2 separate regions of the Homo sapiens genome follow, and region 1 is linked to region 2. The links are contacts of gene promoters, found by promoter capture Hi-C in blood cells and fetal thymus (Javierre and others, 2016). All regions are on one chromosome and are shown on one strand. The core of a region is centred on a gene start or on the middle of the fragment in contact, and the rest is flanking DNA. Distances in the headings are between cores, read along the strand shown. Region 1 overlaps RPRD1B (regulation of nuclear pre-mRNA domain containing 1B). Region 2 holds the start of KIAA1755.

The links. Contacts are between HindIII fragments. The CHiCAGO score rates a contact against its expected background, and 5 or more counts as called.
Region 1: a fragment that was not itself captured here is called in contact with the fragment with the promoter of KIAA1755 in region 2 in 1 of 17 cell types (monocytes); the score reaches 5.4 in monocytes.

Annotation. Positions count from the first base shown.
Region 1 is chr20:38,058,181-38,060,909 of GRCh38, forward strand. It overlaps RPRD1B (regulation of nuclear pre-mRNA domain containing 1B), which reads left to right. Exons shown (of 7, transcript NM_021215.4): 5 at 1,214-1,340. Among named protein-coding and RNA genes, the nearest start is that of RPRD1B, 26 kb to the left of the region's middle. The HindIII fragment of the contact is 293 bases long and covers 1,231-1,523 here.
Region 2 is chr20:38,259,313-38,262,077 of GRCh38, forward strand. It overlaps KIAA1755, which reads right to left and starts at 1,423. Exons shown (of 14, transcript NM_001029864.2): 1 at 1,186-1,423. The coding sequence starts at 1,188. It overlaps LOC149684 (a long non-coding RNA gene), which reads left to right and starts at 863. Exons shown (of 2, transcript NR_104170.1): 1 at 863-1,044. RefSeq lists an enhancer at 1,181-1,680. The HindIII fragment of the contact is 7,247 bases long and covers 1-1,812 here.

The DNA.
Region 1 (2,729 bases), core at 127-2,626, 200 kb before region 2:
AGTAACTTGACCAGTGTCTTAATTTAAATCCAGGTGTGTCTGACTTCAGAGCCCATGCTCTTTTCAAGGCGGGGGCGGGGGGGGCTTCATCTTATTTTGCCTAAAACAGCTTTATTACACATGGTCATGCTTAAAGCCTATGTAAATAGGAAACATGTCTAGTTTGTGTTATGTTACGGTGTTGAGTTAGACTAGGGATTAAATGACAGCAGTGTTAGGTCATATATCTTTGGATTTAAACACTTTAAAGACTACAGCCTAGATTATTACCTTTCAGGGTAATCTAACTACCATCTACAGAGCTAGCTACTCCTTGGTGATTATGGAGTGGCCTGTTAGCATTGTTTTCTGACAATTTAAGAAACTCCTTTTTGATATATACAGAAAATGTATCCCTGGTTTACTTTTCTTGTTTTTTCCCCCTGGGTTTATAATAAGTTTGATACATTTAATTTTGGGAGTGACATCCATTTTGTCAAGAAAACCCAAGAAAGAATTGAAGTAGGTTGATCAGTCAACATATAATTTTTTCCTTCTCCTTCTTGAGACAGGATCTTGCTCTGTTACCCAGGCTGGCGTGCAGTAGCATGATCATAGTTCACTGCAAACTCAACCTCTGGGGCTCAAGTGATACTCCTACCTCAGCCTCCCAAGTAGCTGGGACTATAGACATATGCCACCATGCTTGGCTTATTATTTTATTTTAATTTTTTTGTAGAGACAGGGTGTCGCTATATTGTCCAGGCTGGTCTCGAACTCCTGGGCTCAAGTGATCCTCCTGCCTTGGCTTCCCAAAGTGCTAGGATTACAGGTGCGAGCCACCACACCTGGCCACAACACACAGTTGTTAACATCTGATATTTATACCTTTATTCTATACTGGAAATGATACATCATTTGAAATTAAGCAACATGAACCAAACTCCATTGTTTTGAATTGCCAAAAACATGTTCTTTTAGAATTAAAAAATAATAATAATTATTCAGAATTTCATTCATGTTCTGCCATGGACTTAGATAAACTAATTTTGTGGATTTTCTTAGAGTCCGTGACATTGACTTACATGTAAGCTCTGGGGCTAAGAACAGTTTTTTTTAAGAAATGGCAGGAATGACTGTTTTTAGAATTTGCCTCCACCTCATTTAACTCCAACTAATTTTCTTTAAACCCCATGTCTTAATGGGTAGTGTTGTTTGTGTTTTCATCTTACAGACTGAGGAACTAATCAAAGCTTTGCAGGATCTGGAAAATGCCGCATCAGGGGATGCTACTGTCCGACAGAAAATTGCTTCTCTGCCCCAGGAAGTGCAAGATGTTTCTCTATTGGAAAAAATAACAGGTGAGAAGGTAGAGTTTGGGTGAAAGGTGAGGAGAGAGGGACATAACTGTAATGCAGTAACCCTAGGCCATACTTAACGTCTGCAGGTATAGACTACTTTCCATGTTGTATTGGTTGCTCTACCATCTTGGGATTTGCAAACATAACTCACATGGTGAACAAAGAAACTTTTGAAATAGTCAAAGCTTGAATAGTGATTCTAGGAATTATTGCAGAAATGCTGGTGTGCCACAACCTGTGGCTCTCTAAATAAGGTCTGTTAAAAACATAGTACAAATTGTGTGCGTGTGGGGTGGGTGGGGGAGATTAGGTATTATTCTGTCTGTTAGACTCATAACCCTCTTACTAAAAGAAAAAAAATTATGATTCAGGGCTGTGTGATTTGTGCCCTGCTCTCTGACAAGCCCCGTAGATGATAGTGCGTTCAGTGCCAGGAATTTCAGGTGTCTGTTAGACATGTCATTTTGCCCTAGTCGTGACCTCCCTAGTTAAACAGGGAGGGGCAGTTGACACGATTCCTGCTTTCCTTATGGGAAATTGAAAGGAAGGAATGAAGCATGAACTAATATTGACAGTAGGCTTTGCACCGGTACTTCTGTTCTTTGTGATAGTCTTTGGAGGTGACTAAATGTGTGTCTCCATATTGCATAGGAGGACATTGAGGCTTTGAGAAGATAGGTGTCTTGTCCAAGGTCACACAAGTAGTGGATCTTGGGATTCTAATCTAGGCTGCAAAGCCTATGTTCCTCCCCTTACAAAAGCTCAGACCTTTCATTCCATTGTCTTCCAAAGGCCACCATTTTCCCACTCCAGTCCCTTGACTTGGCTGCTTCTCTAACTTCTTCCATATCTATCTAAAGGAAATCAAGGTCACTGATGAAATATTTCCCTCAACAAATATTTGAGGCCCACCTATATCCCCTCAAGTGAAGTGTCAAGAAGGAAAATAAAGCAGGGCAGTGGGAGCGGAAAATGATTGCAGGCGGTATTAATGGTATTTTAAAGGTGTTTGGGGAAAGCCTTTCTGATGAGATGACCTTGAGCAGAGACCCGAAAAATTAGGAAGCAAGCCATGAGGATATCCAAGGGAAGGAAGGGCCACCAGGCAGTGGAAGCAGCACAGGGAAAGACCTCAGGCAGTGGGCGTACTGGGTTGGAGAACACAGCTCGGAGGCCTTGTGAGTCACGCAAGAAGCATCTCAGCCCCTCACTCTGCTTTCCCACCCCAGGAATTCACCCCACTGGGACCTGCAGTCTCTTGATTCCTCCCCCACCTCTTCCTAGTCCTCGAGTCCTCATTTTCTTCTTTATTCAGATTGGAGTCTCTCTTTTCACTTCCTCACACACACCTTCAACCCATTTTCTTCTCTTTCTCCCTTCAGTGTAGTC
Region 2 (2,765 bases), core at 173-2,672:
GGTGTGTATGCCAATGTATGCCCATAGTTTAGCAGTATGGGGGAGCAGGTGCAGAAGGCATGGGTGTATGAGAGGGTGTGAACATGTGTTCAGCTGTGTGAGTCAGTGGGAGCATTCAGGTGTGCTCTGTGCGTGCATGTGTATGTGTGTGTGCATGTGTACGTGTGTGTGCATGTGTACGTGTGTGTGAGTGCCTGCGTGTGTGTGTGTGTGTGTGTGAGAGAGAGAGAGAGAGAGTATGAACACCTCTATATGGAATTCTTCTGCTTGTGGAGATGCATTTGCTGTGAGTGAAAACCCACACAAATTCAACATGGTTGGTCACAGTCACAGGGTTAAAGCCTTGGCCTGTCTTCACAGCTTTTTTCAAAATCCTTACAGCCCCTGTGAATCTGCCTGGGGCTCTTGTATCTGTCTGGAGCTGGGCTGAAATCCTCCAAAAACAGACTTTTCTTTCATTCCCTGTTGCCAGATACTGGCACAAACGCATCCCTGCCACCACCACCACCACACACACACACACACACACACACACACACACATTCTCCCAGAATGTCTCAACTTTTTTCAAGGTTCCAGCTCCAAAAGTCCCTTCCTCTTCCCTCTCCCCAGCCAATTCCCATGGAAGCACCCTGGGTTTCAATGTGTATATCTGACTTTCCATAGCTGAGTCTAAAACAGCAAAAGCATCCCAAGTTTTGGTAAGCAGTTCTCTCCTTTTCACCCTGGACCCTTAACCCTCCTCGCCCTGCACTGCCTGGCTGGCCTGGGAGGGGACTTTAACCCCCACCACCACTCTTCCCCATCCAAACTCCCTGCCGGGACAATGTGCATATCACAGTCAGTTCCAAAACAAACATGCAAAACCACCCCGTTTCAGCCCTCAGCCTCAGGGCTGAGATTCAGGCTCAGGTCTAGGGGTTGGGGAATATTAAAGTTTACAAGTACAATCTTACTCCATCCATACACACACATGGAGAAGCCAGGAGAGGACGCGGCCAGAGATGGGCTCCTGCCCTTGAACCCCTGCTGGGGTGGAAGCAGGTAAGCACAACCCTGCCAAGGCACTGAGGGTCGTCTCAGTGTAAAAGGCCAGGGCCACCCGGGGCTGTTCTGCAGGGAATGGGGAGGGCTGTGCCCACTGAAAGGGGGCAGAGCGAGGTGGTCCAGGCCTTGGCGCGTTACCATGGTGACGGGCTGCCAGCGGCGGGCGGCGCGGCTCCTCTCCTGGGCGCGGGGTCTGTGGGTCCGCGGGTCCGTCTGTCTGGGGCAGCCCTCGGTCCCGCCTAGCCCTGGAGCCAGGGGATAGGGCAGGCCCGGGGCACCGACCCCGGCGTCATCTCGGAGGAGCGGCCGGGGAGGACAGGGAGAGAGACTGAGAGAGAGACAGAGAGGGACTGAGGCTGGAGACGGCGAGAGACATAAGGGAGCCGCGGGCGGCGCGGGTCGGGCCACCAGACGGGGGGCGGCAGCAGAGGCGGGGCGGGGCGGGGCGCGGCGGGACAGCGGCCCCTTTGTGCCTGAGCCCTTTGTGCCCAGCCCGCGCGCCCCGCCCCCACCGCCCCCCCTTCCCTCCGTCCACCCCCTCAGCAGCCAGCTGGAACCCGAGGAACCCGAGTCCGCCCCGCCAAGTTTTCCTCCCCGCTCCTCGCTCTTCCCACGGCGCACCCGGCCCGGACAGCCCCATTGTACAGACCCGCAGAGCGAGGCCTCGAGCCGCAGCAGCCGGGTTAAGCGCCCGCGGACCTCGCTGGCAGGCCCAAGTTCGAGTCTCCTCCTCCTACACTTCCCAGGGAGTCACAGACTCTCTTAAGCTTCGATTTCTTCATCTGTAAAATGGGGTGGGAGGAGGATGATGATGATGATGATGATGATGATGATGATGATGATAGTGCCTGCTGCTTAGATTTGGTGATGAGGAGTAAGCATCTGTCCCAGCGCCCTTGAATTCTCCCACATTATGCCCCATCATGACGGCCTAATTCAAGGCTTTGAGGTGATGATGGCTGTGTGCGAGTTCTGTTCTTGACTCTCAGATAATGACCTTGGCCAAGTCGGTATTTCCTACTGAGCCTCAGCTTTGGAGTGAGACTAAGAAACTAGATGACCGCTAGGGTCTATATGTGTGTGTCCCCTCCCAAATTCGTATGTCCAGACCTAATCCTCAGTATGATGGCATTAGGAGGTGGGGCCTTTGGAAAGTGATTGGGTCATGAGAGGACAGAGCCCTCACGAATGGGATTAGTGCCTCTCTCTATATATATATATACACCTACATATATATACCTATATATATACATATATACACCTATATATATACATATATACACCTATATATATACATATATAGGCACTAATATGTATAGGCATATATACACACACATATATATACACACACATATATATACACACATATATACATATATATACACACACACGCACACACATATATATTTGAGATGGAGTCTCACTCTGTTGCCCACCCAAGCTGGAGTGCAGTGGCATGATCTCAGCTCACTGCAACCTCTACCTCCCAGGTTCAAGCAATTTTCCTGCCTCAGCCTCCCGAGCAGCTGGGATTTTAGGCACCCGCCACCACACCTGGCCAATTTTTGTATTTTTAGTAGAGACTGCATTTCGCCATGTTGGCCAGGCTGGTCTCGAACTCCTGACCTCAGGTGATCTGCCCACCTCACCCTCCTAAAGTGCTGGGATTACAGGCGTGAGCCACCATGCCCAGCTTAGTGCCCAAGAGGCCCCAGAGA